Regions from separate parts of the Homo sapiens genome. Here region 2 is linked to region 1. The links are contacts of gene promoters, found by promoter capture Hi-C in human tissues and cell types (Jung and others, 2019). All regions are on one chromosome and are shown on one strand. Each heading gives the region's core, a stretch centred on a gene start or on the middle of the fragment in contact. The rest is flanking DNA. Distances are from core to core; before and after follow the strand shown.

Region 1 (6,398 bases), core at 210-2,709:
CTTCAGGGAACCCTTGCCCAGACTATCGTCTACTTTTCTAGATTTCAGCCGGCATCCTGGCTGTTTAAAAGTGTACCTGAATCATTCACACCAACAATAACACAACGACACACTCTCCGGTGTGTTCCAAGTGTCCTGGCTGTGGCATGGTCTCAAAAAACTGCAGCTGACTGCACATGAGTGATTAGATAACACCTTGAACCCACCCTAAGATAGTCTGCCTTTCCCTTCTTTCCTGTCTTCCTTCTTTTCTTTCTCCCTCTCTCTCTTCTCCTATTTCTCTTTTATCTTTCCTTTCCTTTATCCCCCTCCCCTCCTTTCCTCTTTTTCCCTCCCTTCTCTCTCTTTCCACACACACATAACCTGTATATGCCAGGCACTATTCTAGGTGCTTCACAAATATTAATTCATTCCATTCTTATATCAACTTTGTGAAGTAGGAACTATTATCATCAACATTATACAGAGAAGGAAGCTGAGGTAGAGAAAGTTTAAGTAACTTGTCCAAGGTTGAGCATCTTGTCAACGTCATTTTACTACTGGCATGTGAAACAGGTGAGTTATATTTTTTAGAATATTAATTCTCATTAATTGAAGCCTTCCAAACAGGCCTAACTGTCCCCTTCTCTGACATACAAGTGGAAGTGTCATAGCTGGACGGAGCATCATGGTATGAAGGCAGAAAGGACGCGACTGGGTGTTCTTCTGAAGCTCAGGGAGCAGCTCTTGGGGAGAAAGTGTTTCCAGGAAGCGGACAAGAGTTCTGTTGAGCTGAAGAGCAGGGCAGCAGCCGGGGCGAGCGAGGCTGGAGTCATGCAGGGCAGAGCCTTAAATGCTAAGCTGGGGTTTGCTCTCGGTAGGACCAGCTAGCTGCCCCGAGCGGGGGCTGGAACCAGATCTCCCCCACGTGGACTCGCGGACAGGGCGGGGATCAGGACGGGGGCGGGGCCAGGGGAGGGGCGGGGCTCGGGGAGTGAGGCAAGACTGGAGGGCCTGGGACTCTCGGGTACCCGGGCCAGGGGAGGGGCGGGGCTCAGGGAGGGAGGGAGAGACTGGATGACCTGGGGCTTGCAAGGCGGGGCGAGGGGAGGGGCGGGGCGAGGGGAGGGGCGGGGCTCAGGGAGGGAGGGTGAGACTGTGGAGGACCTGGGGCTCGCGGGGTCGGGGCAAGGGGAGGGGCGGGGCTCAGGGAGGGAGGAGAGACTGGAGGACCTGAGGCCCACGGGGGCGGGGCCAGGGGCGGGGCGGGGCTCTGGAAGGGCGGGCGAGACTGTGGAGGACCTGGAGCTGGCGGGGGTCAGGGTAGGGGGGAGGGGCAGGGCTCGGGGTTCGGGGGCGGGGTGTTCACGGTGAGACCAAAAGTCAGGTAGGAGCCTCCGGGGTCCCTGCTGTGTCACCCGGACAGGCCGTGGGGGCGGGCAGGGGGGCGGGGCCGGGCCTGACCACAGCGGCCGAGTTCAGTCCTGCTCTCCGCACGCCACCTTAGGCCCGCAGCCGTGCCGGGTGCTCTTCAGCATGTCCTTCATCCCGGTGGCCGAGGATTCCGACTTCCCCATCCACAACCTGCCCTACGGCGTCTTCTCGACCAGAGGCGACGTGAGCAGTGGGGCTTTGGCGTCCGGGCGCGGGGAGGGAGTGGAGTGGAGTGGAGTGGAGTGGAGTGGAGTGGAGTGGAATGGAGTGGAATGAGGGGCGGGATGGAGGCTTGTGCCATTTTTCTCTTAAGATTCGTTCCGTGAGAGTGCCTATGGGCTCGAGTCCCGCCTCGTAACTTTCTAGCTGTGCACGTTGTTTAACTTTTCAGCCTCATTGTCCGCAGGTTTGCTGAGAATTAAATGCAAAATGAAATGAATCGTGTCACTCTCCCAGACAAGCAGAGCAAGCAGGATTCTGTTACCGGAAGCTGCAGCACACAGGCATGCTGCCTACTCCGAGGTGGTTGCGGTGTGTTTCTCTCGCCCAAGAGGCCAGGTCAGGGCTGGTGGTTCATCTCGCTGGATAGCCCCTAACCCTAGAACCCGGGAAATGATAACCCGGTATGCGTAGCAGGTCAGAGGGGCACGCGCGTTTCTTGGCTTAGAGTTGTGAGATCTAAGATGGCAAGTGTCTCTGCCTATAGCTGAAATTCTTTCAGCTCCTGGTGTGGGCTCCCTGGCATTCCCCTACTGATCAGAAGAAAGAGGGCAGGGAAACAAACTTTGACTAAGTCAGTGTAGTCTGATTGGTAGAAAGAAGTATTTGAAAACTGGGGGTTTATCAGCAAATAGATAATAAGAGGTTCCCTAGGTTGGAAAAGCAGATTCCCTTGGATTTGTTGATGATATTTTTGGCTTAGATTTCTGCTCCCAACTTTAAAGGTAAACTCCTGATTCATCTCTGTAAGCCATAGAACCCCAGAATCAGGAAATGTTTGCTAAACGAGGGGCCTGGCAGTTGGCTTCTTCTTGGAAAGTGGGGTTCCCTCCTTCCCCCATGGCTTGTCATTGGATGCAAGTGGCTGGCCTTTTGTGGGCCTGTCTGCGGTAAGTGCTTTGGTCTAGAAGAGTCAACTTGTGGTTTCACATCTGGCCGGGCTGACCAGATGTTGCAAGGATACAGAAAGTGGACACTCAATCCCCTGGAGGACACAATCTGAGGCACATTAAATCTTAACTTGTGATGGCCAACAACCTTTCTGCAGACAGAGCCCTCCCTCTGCCCTCCTCAAACACTTTGCCCTCGGCAGATGTGTCCTCCCTCACCTTTCCTGGGAGCACAAATCCATTAGACAGAAACATTTGTGAGAGGCAGGCACACCCCAGTAGGGAGCTCTGACTTGCTTTCTCAGGGGAATCGAATTAATATCCGTTAGAGTGTGGCTAGGTGTTTTCAGACACCATGTCCCGCTGTTTCAACATCAGAATGTGCAGGGCAGCCACTACAGATGTCTGGAAGAGAGAGCCCCATTCCGCTGTCCTCTGATACAGTGCTGGGGGTGGAGAGTTGGCCCTTTGGCCTTCCAGCTGAACAAGCCTCTTCTGAAGCTTTCTCTGCAGGCATTGGACATTCCAACCGTGATGGCTGCCTTGCCAGGCAAGACTAGTTGCCAAGGCAAAACCTCCCTTCCCCCATGTCAGCAGTCAGCCTTTCCTAATTTGAGTGGAATAACAATGAATCCTGCCATCACTTTATTCATTTTTTTTTATTCAGCGAATGCTTATGAACCCCAACTCTGGTCCAGATTTTGCCTGGGCTCCGAGTTGGCATCAAAGACACAGGAGACGCCTTCCTTCCATTTCTGGTTGATGGACTAGTAAGGTGTACAGGGGTGCTCTCTGTGAAGGTAGGGGTGGTGGCCTCTGAGAACGGGGTTGTAGTAGTGTGGAGCTGGTTTTGCCGGGTGCCTTGTTAAAGTCCCCGTGGTCTGGCTGTGCTGCTGCCTCCTGGCCTCTGCTTTCTCCAGCCACATTGGCTGCCTTTGAGTCTCTGAGATGTGCTAAGAGCAGCTTCCTGCCTTCAGGCCTTAGCACATGTTGTTCCTTCTGCCTGGAATACTCGTCCTTCTGCTCTCTATATGCTTGGCCCCTTCTCACTCTTTGGGACTCAGCTTAAATGTCACCTCCTAAGCACCCTCTCTGAATGAGCTCCCCGCTGCGGCCCAGCCTTGGTTATCTCTCACCACACCCTGTGTTTCCTTTTGCTTCTGGAGAGAAGGAACCACGTCACTGTTCCCAGGGCCTCAGCAGCCTTTGTGTAATGCTGGTACTGAGAAGATGCTCTCTAAATCTTTGTGGCATGAATAGCGTCTACCCTGTGTCTGTTCTTGTGGTGAGAGATTTACAGATATTAATTAAATTCTCACAATAAACCTACTGTGAAGTTATTGTCCCCATTCTACAGATGAGGAAACTGAGGTCCAGAGAGGCAAAGCATCATGCTCCAGATCTCACAGCCAGTAAGAGGCAGATATGGGGTTGATCCCCACATCTGTCAGCCTCCCAATCTGTAAGGTCCAGCCCTACGGGGCTTAGCGGGTTTTCTCCCTGTGTGCGGAAACGAGAGATTGTAAGAAATAAAGACACAAGACAAAGAGATAAAGAGAGAACAGCTGGGCCCGGGGCACTGCTACCACTGAGACACAGAGACCGGTAGTGGCCCCGAATGGCTGGGCACACTGATATTTATTGCACACAAGACAAGGGGGGCAGGGTAGGGAGGGTGAGTCATCCAAGTGATTGATAAGGTCAAGCAAGTCATGTGATCATGGGACGGGGGCTCTTCCCTCTAAGGTAGCCGAAGCAGAGAGGGAAGGCAGCATAAGTCAGCATTTTCTTCTATGCACTTATAAGAAAGATCAAAGACTTTAAGACTTTCGCTATTTCTTCTACCGCTATCTACTACAAACTTCAAAGAGGAACCAGGAGTACAGGAGGAACATGAAAGTGGACAAGGAGCGTGACCATTGAAGCACAGCACCACAGGGAGGGGTTTAGGCCTCCAGATGACTGCGGGCAGGCCTGGATAATATCCAGCCTCCTACAGGAAGCTGGTGGAGCAGAGTGTTCCCTGACTCCTCCAAGGAAAGGGAGACTCCCTTTTGCGGTCTGCTAAGTAATGGGTGCCTTCCCAGGCACTGGCGTTACCGCTTGACCAAGGAGCGCTCAAGCGGCCCTTATGCGGGTGTGACAGGGCTCACCTCTTGCCTTCTAGGTCACTTCTCAGAATGTCCCTTCAGTACCTGACCCTATACCCACCGGTTATTCCTAGGTTATATTGTACTACAATAAAGAGTAATATTAAAAACTAATGATTAATAATGTTTATACTAATAATCGATAATTGTCCATGATCATCTGTATATCTAATTTGTATTACAACTGTATAGCAGTATAGCTACAGTTTATGCCTTCAGTCTCTTGCCTCGGCACCTGGGTAATCCTTCGCCCACACCAATCCCATGCTTCCCCCTCTATGTCAGGCTGGGAGTTGGGTAATGCTTTCCTTTGGACAACTTTATATCAGATATGACCAACTATTTTAAAACAAAGGCAATGCACATTCATTCTCTTGAAGTTAGACAAATGCGGTCTCCCTCCTTAGTTTGTTTCCCTCAAGTTGCAGATGGGAAACTGAGGCCCAGAGACTTGTCCAAGGTGATAAGATGGTGAATGAGGGAGCAGACTTGGAGCCCAGGAATCCTGGATCTGACCTGTGAGCCCCCTCTAGTTTTGTGCTGAAGAAAATAACTCCCAAGGTTGAAAGTAGAGGGACTCACTCTCTCAGACTTTTTCTGGGTCCTCAGGTCATAGTTTGAAGCACAAGTTTGAAGCTTCTAGGCTTTGTTTGCATTTGAGGCAGCAGGCAGCTGCACTTGTGACCCCATTTTGGAAGTTGCTTACTGGTGGTGACTCCTTCTTGCCTTCAGCTGGGGTGTGGGGACCAGGGTCAGAGATGTGGTCCAAGGGTCTGCCCTGCACATTCCCTGAATGGAAAGCCACTTGGATTCAGGTGGTTCAGCTCTTTGCCTAAAGCAGATTTGCCATTTTCAGGAGGGGAAGACTGAGGCCCAGGGAGTTGGCAGTGGGGCTGAGAATGAGTAACTAAGCTCTCCAGGCAGCCTCTTCTAGGGTAGGCTCTGCTGGGACCTCAGATGAGGAGTATGGCTCTGGTCTACCCCGATTCCAAGAGCTGACATGCGTGGAGAAATGGTCATCTTTTCTCAGCCCACCCCAGTGAGCAGCCAATGGAGATAAGGCCAGCCAATAATCCCACCACTAAGCTCGCTGGCACTGAAATGGCCAAGCTGGTGGTTCAGGAGAGCTGGAAGCCTGGCTCAGGACAGAGCCCTGGGAAGTTGAGTCTGCAAACATGCCCTCGGGTTCTTGTTGACGAGCAAAGCTCAGGGTTGTGGGGACAAAGACCAGGACTTAACAAATATTTAAGACATCTTTGTTGATGCTGGGATTTTGTGGTACAGAAAGGAACTTGCCTTGCATGTTCTGAGCAGTCTGGCTTCCTGCAGCTCCCTTACAACCCGAGCTCTCCTCCATTTGAGCTACAACAGAGCTCATTAATCCAAGCCACCTGGCCCTCAGCACTGTGTGTTGGGCACTCATGCTCCACCGCACAACTGAACTACCCTAGTCAAGGCCTAGAAACCTGGAAAATAATCCAACATCCTGGTAAGGTGGTAAGCTCCTCATCACTGGAGGCATTTATGTAATGCCTAGGGAACTTTGCAGGGGTCTTTGCCCAGGTTAAGTGGCTAGGACCAGGCTGACTGCTCTTCCCCCAGTCCAAGGGATATTTGATTTCTTTCCCATTCAGGGAACACAGATTATTTTTCCTTTTAGTTCTGGAAGCAGAGATGGCACAAGGGAGCTGGGGCAGGATGCTGAGAACATGGTTCTTCAGTCCGC
Region 2 (6,869 bases), core at 3,052-5,551, 810 kb before region 1:
CACAACTGGGGAGGAGGAGGCGCTTACTGGGTAGAGTCCAGGGATGCTGCTGAACATCCTGCAAGGCACAGGACAGCCCTCCACTGATGAAGAAGTATACGACCCAGAGTGTCATCAGTGCTAGGCTGAGAAACCTTGGTTGGTACAAAAATGTGACAAAATAAAAATGACACATAAAAACACATTAAAGATGAGAAAAACTAAAAAACGTGGATGGGGGCAGATGAAAATTATGACTAAATATGTCATTATCAGTTTAAGAAATAAGTAATTGTCGTTACAAAACAAGAGTTTGAAGCAGAGATATAAGCAATAAAGATAGGATAAAAGATCTTACATCAACCATATCTGACATATAGATAAGGAAAATGATACTCATCTATCAGAAGAGAAAATGTTGGATCACAAAGCAAAACCCAATTTTATGTTGTATGCAACATAAACAAGATGTTGTATACAAGAAACACAATTAAGACCAAGTTGTCCAGCAAATTTGAAGAAGGGTTGGCAAAGATATACTATGTGAACAGAAAGAAAAATAAAGCAGTGTCACAACTTTTATATCAAAAAAGGTTAATCTCTGCTTCATACTTTATGCTAAAATAACTTCCAGGTAGATAAAAATTGTAAACATTACAAAGAAAAAAATTTAAATGCTAGAGGAAAATCTTTGAAAATAATATTATTTACCTTAAGGGAGTCCTTTGAAGTACAATATCATAAAAGAAGTTGATAAATCTAACTACCTAGAATCTAAAATTGTTGCATGGTAAAGCATGCACACAAACACACACATATACACTGTATAAACAAAACCAAAAGACAAAAGGCAAACTGAGGAAAAACTCATATTACAACTCATATCACAAAAGATTAGTCATCTTAATTAATTAAGTAGTTAATAACCATTTGTTAAGTGTCTGTGTTACACTGGGCCCTGCTTAGCACTGGGGAGATAATAACATAAAACACAAAGTTCCTGCCTTTGTGAAACTTACATCTCATGGAACAGCCAGACAATAAACAGATAAAGTAGTAAATGTATGTAATATTAGGTACTGATAAGTGCTATAAAGACAAAGTTAGGTGTGGGTATAAAGAGTGAGATGGAGTGAGAATAGGTATTACTGAGATTGGGTAGTAAGGAAGGTCTCATCGATGAGATTTTGTTTGAGCAGGGGACATTTCAGCTAGGAGAAAGAGCAATTGCAAAGGTCTGGAGATGGAAATATAAGGGTTTGTTTGAGGAACAGCATGGAGATAAGAATTGGTGTGGCAGTGAGAAAGGGGTATAGTGGTTAAAAAGTGAAGTTCAAGGTACCCAGGAGCCAGCTCACAGAAAGCTTTCAGGCCATGATGGGACGGTGCATACAACCTCCATCACCAAGACACTCTGTCCATCACTACAGAGATCTCTTCCATGCCAGTCCTTTATACTCATACACACTGCCCTCCCTTCTACCACCCTTGGTGCCTGTTAACAACTAATCTGTTCTCCATCTGCGTACCTTTGTCACTTTGAAGATGTCACGTAGATGGAATCATGCAACATGTGGCCTGTTGAGATCATCTGTCTTCGCTCAGCATAATATATGCTCTTTCATTTTATTTCTGAGTAGTATTTTATGCTATGGATGTATCACATTTTATTTAGACATCCATACACTGAAAGATATTTGGGTTGTTTCTGATTTTCACTATTACAAATCGGGCTTCTATGAATCTTCAAATTTGTGTTGATTTATATTTCAAAGGGTCACTATGGCTGCTTTGTGGGTAGTAGACTGCAGGGGTAAGAGTGGATGCAGGGAGTGAGGAGCTACTGCCATAGTCCAGGCAGACATGACAATGGATTCAACCAACTGGAGAGGTGAAGGATGTGGGACAGGCTCTTGGGTTGAATATGAGGCACAAAAGAAAGAAAGGAGTCAATGACAACTTTGTGAATTTGAACTACCAGGTGAAAGGTAGTCTCATTTACTGAGATGAGCCTGACTGTGGGAAGGAGAGTTTGGGGATGGAGTTTTGGTGGAGGCAGATCTAGCACTCTGTTTTGGCCATGTTAAGTTGGAGATCGCTATTAGAGGTCCTGCAGAGATAGCAATTCAACAGCCATATGAGTCTGGAATTCAGAGTGTAGGTTGGGCTGGAGAGAAAACTTTGAGATTCCATAAATATGTAGATAGAAGGTGAAATAAAAACACTCGGCCTACGTAGTTCACCAAGTAAATAAAGACAGAAAAGCAGGTCTAGATCCCATGGGCCTCCAACTTATAGAAGTTGAGAAGAAGAGAAGGTCAAATAGAAAGTGAGAGGGAGCAGCTGGAAAGACAGAAGGAACCCCCCAGAGTGTGGTGGCCCACAAGGCACCAGAAGATGCCTTTTCAGGAGTGAGGAGTGAGCCTCGGTGTCAAATGCTGCTGCTGAGAGCTGGTGTTGGCGTCCTAGGATTGCTGTAACAAATGACCACAAACTGGGAAGCTTAAAACAACATAATTTTTTCCTCTCACAGCTTTGGAAACCATAATTCTAAAGTCAAGGTATTGGCAGGGTTGGCTCCTTCCAGATGCTCTGGGGAAGAGCTCATTCCATGTCTCTCTCCAGGATTCTGGTGGCCCCAGGCTAGGATACATGACTAGGTTCCATGACACACCACCAAACCCCCAACTCCATTTCACATGGTGGTTTCTTGGTCTCTCTCTCTTTTCTCTTATAAGGATTTGTCATTGGATTTAGGGTCCTCTAATGCAGGATGACATTATTTTGAGATCCTTACTTTAATTACATCTGCAGAAAACCCTTTTTCTTTTAAGGTCACATTCCCAGGTTCCAGGAAGACATGAATTTGGGGGAACCTCATTCAACCCAGAGGGCCAGCAAGAAGAGAACTGGTAACTGAACTTTGGATCTGGCAAGGTCGAGATCGTTGGTGACTTAACAAGAGTAATTTGTACGAAACATTGGAGGCAAAGACTTCACTGTAGTGAGCCCAGTGAGATGAGGCAGTGTGAAAGGGAGACAATGTTTTATAGGAGTTTAACTTTAAAGCTTTGCTGTGTTTGAGCAGTAGCCGGAAGGAGATGTGGAAGAGACTGTTTTTGTTTTATAATTTGAGAGACAGAGCAGCATATGGGAATTTAATGGAAATGCTCACAGAAAGAGAGAAAACAGGGGGACAATGAAAGACATATAAATATAGAGAGCTACCAATCAGGAAGAAGAGGACCACCAACTCAATAGAAAGACTGGGCCAAAGATCCAGACAGGGAAGAAAAATAGAAAGCTCTTTTTAAAAATTTATTTACTTTATTTTTTATTAACTTTTAAGTTCAGGGGTACATGTGCAGGTTTGTTACATAGGTACACTGGTGTCATGGGGGTTTGTTGTACAGATTATTTCATCACCCAGATATTAAGCCTAGTACCCATTAGTTATTTTTCCTGATCCTCTCCCTTCCCACCCTTCACCCTCTGATAGGCCATAGTGTGTTGTTCCCCTTTATGTGTCCATGTGTTCTCATCATTTAGCTCTCACTTATAAGTGAGAACATGCAGTATTTGGTTTTCTGTTTCTGCATTAGTTTGCTAAGGATAATGACCTCCAGCTCCATCCGTGTTCCTGCAAATGACATGATCTTGTTCTTTTTCTGGCTGCATAGTATTCCATGGTTTATATGTACCACATTTTCTTTATCCAGTCTATTATTGGTGGGCATTTAGGTTGTTGATTCCATGTCTTTGCTATTGTGAGTAGTGCTGCAATGAATATACACATACATGTGTCTTTATAACGAAACAATTTATATTCCTTTGGGTATATGCCCAGTAGTGGGATTGCTGGGTCAAATAATATTTCTGCTTATAGGTCTTTGAGGAATCATCACACTGTCTTCCACAATGGTTGAACTAATTTACATTCCCACCACCAGTGTATAAGCATTCCTTTTTCTCCACAACCTCACTAGCATCTGTTATTTTTTCCCTTTTACTAATAGCCATTCTGACTGGTGTAAGATGACATCTTCTCATGGTTTTGATTTGCATTTCTGTAATCATCAGTGATGTTGAGCTCTTTTTTATAAGATTGTTGGCCACGTGTATGCCTTCTTTTGAAAAGTATCTGTTTATGTCATTTTCCCGCTTCTTAATGGAGTTGTTTGTATTTTTTCTTGTAAATTTGTTTAAGTTCTTTATAGATGCTGGAGTTAGACCTTTGTCAGATGCATAGTTTGCAAAAATTTTCTCCCATTCTGTAGGTTGGCTCTTCACTCTGTTGATAGTTTCCTCTGCTGTGCAGAAGCTCTTTAGTTTAATTAGATCCCATTTGTCAGTTTTTGCTTTTGTTACAATTGCTTTTGGTGTCTTTGTCATGAAGTTTTGCCTGTTCCTATGTCCAGAATGGTATTGCCTAGGTTGTCTTATAGGGTTTTGATATGGTTAGACTTTGTGTCCCCACCCAAATCTCATTTTAAATTGTAGATCCCATAATTCCCATGTGTCGTGGGAGGGACCAGGTGGACATAATTGAATCATGGGGGCTATTCCCACCATCCTGTTCTCATGATAGTGAATAAGTCTCACAAGATCTGATGGTTTTATAAAGGGCAGTACCCCTGCACATGCTCTCTTACCTGCCACCATATATATGTGCCTTTGCTCCTCTTTCACCTTCCACCATGATTGTGAGGCCTCCTGAGCCATGGGAACTGTGAGTTCATTAAACCTCTTTTTCTTTATAAATTACCCAGTCTTGAGTACATCCTTATTAGCAGCATGAGAACAAACTAATCAGGTTTTTATAGTTTTGGGTTTTCCATTTAAGTCTTTATTCCATCTTGAATTGATTTTTGTATATGGTGTAAGGAAGGGGTCCAGTTTCAATCTCCTGCCTATGGCTAGCGAATTCTCCCAGCACCATTTATTGAATGGGGAATCCTTTCCTCATTGCTTGTTTTTATCAGGTTTGTAGAAGACCTGATAGTTGTATGTGTGTGGCCTTACTTGAAACATCATCAATAATGAGCTCTGAAATTGAGCCAGTAATAAATAGCCTACTAACCAAAAAAGCCCAGGACCAGAAGTATTCCACAGCTGAATTCTACCAGATGTACAAAGACGATCTGGTAGCATTTCTGCTAAAACTACTCCAAAAATTTAAGGAGGAGGGACTCCTTCCTAATTCATTCTGAGGCCAACATCATCCTGATACCAAAACACGGCAGAGACACAACAGATAAAGAAAACTTCAGGTCAATTTCCTAGATGAACATCAGTGCAAAAATCCTCAACAAAATACTGGCAAACTGAATCCAGCAGCACATCAAAAAGCTTACCCACCATGATCAAGTAGGCTTTACCCCTAGGATGCAAGGTTTGTTCAACATATGCAAATCAATAAACATGATTCATTACATAAACAGAACTAAAGACAAAAAACCCACATGATTATCTCAAGAGATGCAGAAAAGGCTTTCAATAAAATTCAACACTGCTTCATGTTAAAAACTCTTAGTAAACTAGGTATTGAAGGAAAATACCTCAAAATAATAAGAGCCATCTATGACAAACCCACAGCCAACATTATACTTAATGGGCAGAAGATGGAAGGATTCTTTGTGAAAACTGGCACAAGACGAGGCTGCCCTCTGTCACCACTCCTATTCAACATTGTATTGGAAGTCACGGCCAGGGCAATCAGGCAAGGGAAAGAAATAAAGTGCATCCAAATAAGAAGGGAGGAAGTCAAACTATCCTTGTTTGCAGATGACATGATACTATATCTAAACATCCCCATAGTCTCACCTCAAAAGCCCCTTATACTAATAAAGAACTTCAGCGTAGTCTCAGCATACAAAATCAATGTGCAAAAATTACTAACATTCTTATACGCCAACAACAGTCAAGCTGAGAGGCAAATCCAGGAATGCAATCTCATTCACAGTTGCCACAAAAAGAATAAATACCTAGGAATACAGCTAGCCAGGGAGGTAAAAGATCTCTACAAGGATAACTACAAAACACTGCTCAAAGAAATCAGAGATGACACAGAAAAAGGGAAAAAACTCTTATACCCAAAAAAGCATATCATTTTGAAAGTTAACAAAAATAGCTGATTTTACCCAGATCAAAATGTTTGAAAAAACACTAGATTGTCCAAAGTGTGGAGAATGATGCCCAGTCATAGATTGCTTGTGGGAAATTAAGATGATAAGAGCTCTATAATAAAAATGAGACCTAACAATTATTAAGCACTTACCCTGTTGCCAGGCAATATTTTCAATAAGTTACATGCATTAAATCATTAACCCTCACTCTAACCCCTGAAGAGGGCACAGTGCCCTCTGAAGAAACTTGCCGGTTAAGTCACTTGCCTAACACAGATGACAGGTCACTTGTCACACAGATAGTGGCCTGCAGCACCCTTCAAAGGGCAAAATGGTGACACTTATCAATGTGAAAACATATATACTTTTTAAGCCAGCAATTCTAGGAATTTTTCTTATTGCTACATGTTCATGCTTGTCAAATATATGTATATAAATATAGTCACTACCCTGTTGTTTGCAATAGTAAAAAACCGAAAGTGAATTTACACATAAGAATGCTGATGGAAATGCTCATATAGGGAGACAAATCAATAGAAACCTCATTAGCAAACAATGGTATATTTCAACAATGAAATTTTAAGCAGCTATTACTAAAAATTAGATAGTGCTCTGTGTAATGGAAGAAATCAATCTCCAAAATACACTGTTAGGTGAAAAACAAGAGGTGCATACCATAATGTATGGAATTCTCCCTTTTGGGTAGAAAGTATACATGTACCCAGTAGTGTGATTGCTGAATCATACAGTAGTTCTGTTTTTAAT

Evidence for each region. Contacts are between HindIII fragments. The study calls those that stand out against the background at their distance.
Region 2: a contact is called between a fragment that was not itself captured here and the fragment with the promoter of FAH in region 1, in 2 of the 25 tissues and cell types used here (dorsolateral prefrontal cortex and lymphoblastoid cells).

The regions. Positions count from the first base shown.
Region 1 is chr15:80,151,540-80,157,937 of GRCh38, forward strand. It overlaps FAH (fumarylacetoacetate hydrolase), which reads left to right and starts at 1,460. Exons shown (of 14, transcript NM_000137.4): 1 at 1,460-1,596. The coding sequence starts at 1,516. RefSeq lists a silencer at 889-1,448. The HindIII fragment of the contact is 10,148 bases long and covers 1-4,165 here.
Region 2 is chr15:79,341,843-79,348,711 of GRCh38, forward strand. It overlaps a transcript of TMED3 not described here. Among named protein-coding and RNA genes, the nearest start is that of TMED3, 34 kb to the left of the region's middle. The HindIII fragment of the contact is 4,778 bases long and covers 1,913-6,690 here.